Linked DNA regions of Homo sapiens: region 1 is linked to region 2. Evidence: promoter capture Hi-C in human tissues and cell types (Jung and others, 2019). All regions are on one chromosome and are shown on one strand. Each heading gives the region's core, a stretch centred on a gene start or on the middle of the fragment in contact. The rest is flanking DNA. Distances are from core to core; before and after follow the strand shown.

Region 1 (4,073 bases), core at 1,196-3,695, 360 kb before region 2:
GGGAGGAATGGGTACGGTGGTTTAAAAATAGAAAGGACGGGGAACACAAGGATGACGCTGGAAGGGCTTCCCGAACATCGGGAGCTTGTGCATGGTGGGCCCTGGGAGAGTGAGAAAACAAACTCAGGACCCCCGGGCAGGAGCTGACACTTCCCTGGCTCCTCCCCCTCCCCCAGCCTCCCAGATGCTCCTTAAAATACATCAGTGCCTGAACTGCTCTTGCAGCCTGAGGTGACCTGATTAAACCTGGTCCTTCCCCCACACAGCCTGTGTGCCTGCGTCTGTGCATGAGGGCTGCCCCAGCCAATACTTGAGCTTAATTATTTAAGAGACCCTGTAGTCCTCCTTGTCACATGCCCAGGCTGCCCTGGGGAACTGCTGTGGTTAAGGCCTTTGGGCTTCTGTGGCTTGGGTGGTGGTGGGGAAACCAGGACGGCACTGGGAGAGCCAAATACGCACCCCAGTCCCACCTGTGCTTGGCTGTGCGACCCTAGGCAAGTCACTTTCCCATTTTGAGACCCCCTAGAGAGAGGAATAGACTGGTCAAAGTCATACATACATACAGCATCTGAACTTGAACTCCAATCAGTGTGACCCCACAGCTTTCTGGTGTGCCATGCCAGCCCCCCAGCCCAGGAGTGTCATTTTGCTGGCTGTGGGGCAGAAGAGCTCCCTACTACTTTTAGCCTCCCATTTTGCTGCTCAGCATGGACAAAGGTCTGAACTGCCCCAAGCCCCATTCCTACAAGGCTCTGGGTCCTGGCTGCCCCAGTTGTGACCGTGGACATGACTGGCTCAGCCAGGTCCTGAGCGCCCTCTACCCCCTAGGGGGCTCTACTCCAGACTGGCTGGCAGGTGTCCCCTCCCCACCAGCCATCTGAGAGTGTCCCCAAGTCCCCCTCAGGGAATCCCCCTGCGCATCCGTGAACATTGCCTAGCCATGTCTCTCCAAGCCTGGGAGAGCCATCTGTGGCCAAAACTGTCCTCTGGCCTTTCCCAGGACACGGGCAGGCAGTTCCTGTCTATACCTGTCTTTTTTTTTTTTTTTGAAGGGGGTGAGGATGGGTCAAGATGGGCAGACACAGAAAACAGACATTTTTGGAGAAGACTTCAAGGAAATGGGGGGCGGCAGGGCAAAGCTGGGAGGAGGAAACATTCAGAATTTGGAGGGTCCAGAGGACTCTGGGATGGAGTCAGGTTTGGGAAACCAGTTCCCCATCCCCCAGAAAGCTGGAGACCCCCTTTCCCAGGGAGAGGCCCCTGCCGGATCACAGCCAGGCAGCATGATGCCAGGCTCTCAGAGAGGTTGCCCACCCCCCACTGGGCATACTTCCTCCTCTCCTACCCCAGCCCCAGTGGATGCAGCAGTTCACACTCTGTATTTATTATTGTTCTCGCTCTGTGTCCCCCTCCCCTCTCCCTGGGAAGAGCCTGCAGGCTGGCAGCTTGGCAGGAACCTGCTGTCTCCTTGTGGGTGCCAGCGTCGCCCCTTATCTCCGCCTGGACTCCTTGTGCCAGGGTCAGGCCATTCATGGGCTTGGCACCAGCCAAGGCCACCCTAAGTCCCTGTATCCCAAGATAGAGGCCTGGCAGGCCCTGACTTATCACCCCTGCCCTCCGGGGGCTGTGCCCTGGCAAGGGTGGAGGTCAGAGCAGACCAGCAGGCAGGCAAGAAGCAAGGGCTCGGGGTGGGGTGGTACCTGGGGGAAGAGAATAACCACACGGAGCCACCTCTCTAAGCCAACTAACACAATTATCCCCATCACACTGGGGAAAAAATAGAGTCAGGATAAGACAGCTGCTCCAGGTCCAACTGTCTGCCTTTCCCAGCCGGTCCCTTCCCAGCCCAACATTCCAGGGGAAGGACCAGCAAGGGTCCCTGCTGCACTCTGCTTTCAGCAACTGGAAGCGGCACTGGGGTTTCTCTGGTCAAGGCGGTCCTCTCTCCCGCTGCTTCCCAGACAGGAGGCTGCGGCTTGGCAGGTATCTGCTGCTCTCTGCCTCCTGAGCCAGACGCAGGTCCCAGACACAGACACAGACACAGACACAGACATGCTCCCACGGGAGCCACACGGCCTCACCTCATTTGGGGGTCACGGGGAGAGAATGAGGGAGGGAGAGACAGGTGGTATCCTCTATACCCCCAACACCCTATCTGTAAGCTGAACTGGGCTGATCCAGCCCCCACCTTCACGTTGTACCTCTCTCCTTCGGCCTGGCCAAAGCCACAGTTTCTGGCACAGTGTCCTCAGGCCCCATCTAGCCCCTCACCTCTCCTGGGCAGCTGGGGTCCAGGCACTGCCTCCTGCGGCGTCCGCGCTCTGTCTCTCTCTGGCTCGTGGAGCTGGCAGGCAGGGGATGGGTCTGGAAGATGTGTGTGTGTGTGTGTGTGTGTGTGTGTGTGTGTGTCTGTGTGTGCTCGCGCGGGCGGTACCTCAGCCCCTCACTCACTCACACGCCTTCCAGCTGACGTCAGGGAGAGCAGGAGGGAGGGATGAGAATTTGTACTCCCTGCTTAAAGGGACACCAGGCTCTGTGGCTCATGGCCCAGACATCACCTCCTGAGTCAGGCACTGCCAGGTGAGAGGCTCAGCTGCGTCTCTCGGGGGCCTTAAAGCTTCTTTTTTTGGAAAGTGGCTTTTATGGTCGGGCCACGGTATAATTTGCCCTGCCCAGTGAGGGCAGCTGCTGAGGAATGCAGGGGAGGAAGAACCTGAGACAGCGCCACGTTCCTGGTAATTAGAGAGCAAGTGGGGTGGTGAGTTTGAGTGTGAGTGTGTGAGTGCACACTGGGGGGCCCCTCGGGGTGGGTGGGCATGAGTGGGGGTGAGTCTGGGAGAATGGAGGTCAGAGCCAAGAGGAGCCCCCCAGAGGGGTCGAGACAAGCCAGGTTCCCAGGGACACCCAGACACTCGTCTCCCCTCCGGACGCTCAGTGGTCCTGCCCTCTGCTAGTACAGACACTGACACGGCTCATCTCTGTCTACCCCTTGTAATATTTCCATGGAATTGAATTGACGAGGACCCCAAGGAAGTGATCGGCTTGAAGGTGCACAGGTGAACACCCCACAGCCTGGGAGGCTCTGAGTAGAGAAGTAGAGAGGGCTGATTGAATTCAGGCACCCAGCCTGTTCTACACCACACGCCCTGGCTTCGAAGTGCTCCGCACTGTCAAGCTGTGTGACCTTGGGCCAGCCCCTGAGGGCCTTTGGAGGTTGAGTGTGTGATGTTCCTAAACCCAGGGCCAGCTGGAGGAGGCCTCCACAAAGGTGCTTCTCTTCGTTCTTCCCATTCCTTCTCAGCCTCAGCTTGGAAAGAAGGAAGCCTTTCCCTGGTGTCTCCTGGTACTACTGAGGCAGGCTGGCATTTTCAAAAGGAGTCTTTTTAAAATAAAAAGGAGGTGGGAGTTAAAAGGGAAACCGCAGAGAAAAATACAAGTAACTAATACAAATAGCTAAGACGCCACAAGAGCTTGCTCTGTTTCAGGCAGCAAGCTTTGCCCTCATTGAAACCTCACAACAATTTAATAATTTATTTTTATCATCCCTACTTTACCGGTGAGGAATTAGAGGCTCAGGGAGGAGGAAGGACTTGACTTGCCTATATTCTTCCAACTGGCTAGAGAGGTACTGGAACCCAGGAGCACCCAGTGTCACCACACGCCCCTGCCCTTCCAGAACCTCTCAGGACAATCAGGCTCAGACAGTCTGGGTTTCTGGTTCTGCAGGAGAGACTGTTGAGAAATGCTGCCTGTGGTTACCTGGGGATGTTCTGAATTATTATTATTTTTTTTAGAGAGTATTGCTGTGTCGCCCAGGCTGGAGGGCAGTGGCTTGATCTCAGCTCGCTGCAACCTCCGCTTCCCGGGTTCAAGCGATTCTCCTGCCTCAGCCTCCTGAGTAGCTGGGACTACAGACACACACCACCACACCCAGCTAATTTTTTTGTATTTTTAGTAGAGACAGGGTTTCACTATGTTGGCCAGAATGGTCTCGATCTCCCGACCTCGTGATCCACCCACCTCAGCCTCCCAAAGTGCTGGGATTACAGACGTGAGCCACCGCGCCCAGCCAG
Region 2 (4,150 bases), core at 777-3,276:
CACTCACTGCAACCTCCACCTCCTGTGGTCACCCTTTTTAAATCTTCACCTTTAATACACACAGGTGATCTTTAAAACTCATTGACCTGGCCGGGTGCAGTGGATCACGCCTGTAATCCCAGCACTTTGGGAGGCCAAGATGGACAGATCACAAGGTCAGGAGATCGAGACCAGCCTGGCCAAGATGATGAAACCCTATCTCTACTAAAAATACAACTATTAGCTGGGTGTGATGACGGGTGCCTGTAATCCCAGCTACTTGGGAGGCTAAGGCAGGAGAATCGCTTGAACAAGGGAGTCAGAGGTTGCAGTGAGCCGAGATTGCACCACTACACTCCAGCCTGGGCAACAGAGCAAGACTCCATCTCAAAAAATAAAAATAAAAATAAATGTTCTGGAATAAGATAGTGGTGAAAAAAAAAGAAAAAGACAGGTTGGTTCAGCAAGTGCAAAGGCCACATTGGTGGAACAGCAAGTGCAAAGGTCCTGGGGCCAACTCAAGCTTGGTATGCAATAAACAGAAAGACAGAGAGAGTAGATGGATATAGCAAAACATGGAGAGGGTGATACAAGATGAGGTTTGAGAGAAAGCTGAGACCAGGTCATTCAGGGTCTTGTGGAGTGCTTGGATTTTATTCTGTGCAAGGGAACGGCATTAGAGTTTTTTTGTTTGTTTGTTTTTGAGACAGAGTTTCACTCTTGTTGCCCAGGCTTGAGTGCAATGGCGCGATCTCGGCTCATCACAACCTCTGCCTCCCAGGTTCAGGCAATTCTCCTGCCTCAGCCTCCCAAGTAGCTAGGATTACAGGCATGCACCACCACACCTGGCTAATTTTTTTTTTTTTTTTTTGTATTTTTAGTAGAGATGGGGTTTCTCCATGTTGGTCAGGCTGGTCTCGAACTCCCGACCTCAGGTGATTCGCCCACCTGGGCAAATGGTCTTGATCGCCTGACCTCGTGATCCGCCTGCCTTGGCCTCCCAAAGTGCTGGGATCACAGGCCTGAGCCACTGTGCCCAGCTAAAAATTTTTTAAAATTAGCTAAGTGTAGTGGCATGTACCTGTGGTCCCAGATACTCTGGAGGCTGAGGAGGGAGGATTGCTTGAGCCCAGGAGGTTGAGGCTACAGTGAACCATGTTCATGCCACTGCACTCTACCCTGGTGACAGAGAAAAAAAAAAGTTGTCTGGCTGGGCATGGTGGCTCACACCTGTAATCCCAGCACTTTGGGACGCTGAGGCAGGTGGATAACTTGATATCAGGAGTTCTGCCAGACGCGGTGGCTCACGCCTGTAATCCCAGGACTTTGGGAGGCCAAGGTGGGCGGATCACCTGAGGTCAGGAGTTCAAGACCAGCCTGGCCGACATGGTGAAACCCCATCTTTACTAAAAATACAAAAATTAGCCGGGCTTGGTGAGGCATGCCTGTAATCCCAGCAACTCCGGAGGCTGAGGCAGGAGAATCGCTTGAACCTAGGAGGCGGAAGTTGCAGTGAGCTGAGATCGCGCCATTGCACTCCAGCTTGGAAAAAAAACAAAAAAGGAATTCTAGACCACCCTGGCCAACATGGTGAAAACCCTGTGTCAATTAAAAAAAATTACAAAATATTAGCCTGGTGTGGTGGCACAAGCGTATAGTCCCAGCTACTTGGGAGGCTGAGGTGGGTGGATCACTTGAGGTCAGGAGTTTGAGACCAGCCTAGCTAACATGGTGAAACCCCATCTCTACTAAAAATAGAAAAATATTGGCCGGGCACAGTGGCTCATGCCTGTAATCCAAGGACTTTGGAAGGCTGAGGCAGGTGGATCACCTGAGGTCAGGAGTTCGAGACCAGCCTGACCAATATGGTGAAACCCCATCTGTGCTAAAACTACAAAAATTAGCCGGGTGTGGTGACATGCGCCTGTAGTCTCAGCTACTCGGGAGGCTGAGACCGGAGAATTGCTTGAATCAGGGCGGTGGAGGATGCAGTGAGCCGAGATTATGCCACTGTACTCCAGCCTGGGCGACAGAGCAAGATTTTCTCTCAAAAAACAAACAAACAAACAAAAACCAACAACAACAAAAAAGTTGTCTGGGTGGAATAGCACAATGGCAGGGCATAGAGCAGAAGAGGTGAGTTTAAGGGATTTATGTACATAGTTTGGAACAGAAGAGCACGTTTGTGTTGCTATTGGGAGTGATCTAGTAGAGAGAGACAGATCAATGATCCCAGACAGAGGGACAGTGATGCACAGAGGGAGGGCCTTAAAAGAGAGGAGCGTATTAGGTCCACATGTAGAGGGATGAATTAGTCCAGCCAAAAAGGGTACCTTTGCTGCAGGATGAAACCCCTGCCCAGGAGCTCCATAGCAGAAGGAACTGCCACACTGTTACTGTTCTGGGGCGGCCACTATTGCTTAGCAACCTGTGCTTAATAAGATGTTTCAACTGAATTCCTAATAAACGGCCATTTCAACTTACGCCAACGGTTCCTGTCACTGGTGTTCCTGCTCTGCTTATCTCATACGCTGAAACTGGATGCTCAGGTTTTTACTTCCTTGTACTGTTGATGTATGCATTTTTTGCTTTTGTTTTTTTTTTTTCTGGAGACGGAGTTTCGCTCTTGTTGCCCAAGCTAGAGTGCAATGGCGTGATCTCAGCTCACTGCAACGTCTGCTTCCTGGGTTCAAGCGATTCTCCTGCCTCAGCCTCCCGAGTAGCTGGGATTACAGGCATGCGCCACCATGCTAGGCTAATTTTTGTATTTAGTAGAGACGGGGTTTCACCATGTTGGTCAGGCTGGTCTCGAACTCCTGACCTCAGTTAATCCACCAACGTCAGTCTCCCTAAAGAGCTGGGATTACAGGTGTGAGCCACCGTGACTGGCCTAATTTTGTATTTTTAGTAGAGACAAGGTTTCTCCGTGTTGGTCAGGCTGGTCTCGAACTCCCAACCTCAGGTGATCTGCCCGCCTCGGCCTCCCAAAGTGCTGGGATTAGGATTACAGGCGTGAGCCACTGCGCCTGGCTTTTTTTTTTTTTTTTTAAAATAGAGTCTCAGCCCAGCACGGTGCCTCACGCCTGTAATCCCAGCACTTTGGGAGACCGAGGCAGGTGGGTCATGAGGTCAGGAGTTCAAGACCAGCCTGGCCAAGATGGTGAAACACCGTCTCTACTAAAAATACAAAAATTAGCTGGGTATGTTGGTGGGTGCCTGTAACCCCAGCTGCTCAGGAGGCTGAGGCAGAGAATTGCTTGAACCCAGGAGGTGGAGGTTGCAGTGAGCCGAGATCATGCCACTGCACTCCAGCTTGGACGACAGAGTGAGACTCCGTCTCAAAAAAAAAAAAAAAAAAGAAAGAAAGAAAGAAAAGAAACAGAGTCAAGCTCTGTCATCCAGGCTGGAGTGCAGTGACACAATCTCAGCTCACTGCAACCTCCGCCTCTGAGGTTCAAGCGATTCTCCTGCCTCAGTCTCCGGAGTAGCTGGGACTATGGGTACGTGCCACCATGCTGGGCTAATGTTTTGTACTTTTTTTAGTAGAGGCAGGGTTTCGCCATGTTGGACAGGGTGGTCTAGAACCCCTGACCTCAAGTGATCCACTTGTCTTGGCCTCCCAAAGTGCTGGGATTACAGGTGTGTCCACCACATCCAGCCACAAGAAACATCTTTTTTTCTTTTCCTTTTTTTTTTTTTTTTTTGAGGTAGGGTCTTGCTCTGTCACCACCCAGGCTGGAGTGCAGTGGTACAATCACAGCTCACTGCAGCCCCAACCTCCCAGGGTCAAGTAATCCTCCCATCTCAGCCTCCTGAGTAGTGGGGACCACAGGTGTGCGCCTCCAGGCATGGCTATTTTTTGTATTTTTTGTAGAGAGGGGGTTTCTCCATGTTGCCCAAGCTGGTCTTGAACTCCTGGACTCAAGCAATCCACCCACCTTGTCCTCCCAAAGTGCTGGGATTACAGGCACAAGTCACTGCACCTGGCCCCCTTGCTTCTTCTCTTGATCCACCTCCAGTTCATTCTTCGCACAGACACTAAATGTAATACAGACATCAAATCAATTTACTCGCCTGCTTAAAACCTTCAAAGGTTTTCCATTGTGCTCTCCTGCTAACTGGAACTTTTCTCCACCTCAGTCTCTATATTCTGGGTCTCTGCCTGAAATGC

The links. The method cuts DNA at HindIII sites, captures the fragments that hold promoters and counts their contacts. A contact is called where the count stands out against the background at its distance.
Region 1: a contact is called between the fragment with the promoter of CSDC2 here and a fragment that was not itself captured in region 2, in 1 of the 25 tissues and cell types used here (aorta).

The regions. Positions count from the first base shown.
Region 1 is chr22:41,559,382-41,563,454 of GRCh38, reverse strand. CSDC2 (cold shock domain containing C2) reads right to left here and starts at 2,445. Exons shown (of 4, transcript NM_014460.4): 1 at 2,272-2,445. It overlaps LOC105373044 (a long non-coding RNA gene), which reads left to right and starts at 2,572. Exons shown (of 2, transcript NR_134631.1): 1 at 2,572-2,735. The HindIII fragment of the contact is 6,219 bases long and covers 1,278-4,073 here.
Region 2 is chr22:41,199,677-41,203,826 of GRCh38, reverse strand. No RefSeq gene overlaps it. Among named protein-coding and RNA genes, the nearest start is that of L3MBTL2, 3.6 kb to the left of the region's middle. The HindIII fragment of the contact is 6,746 bases long and covers 1-4,150 here.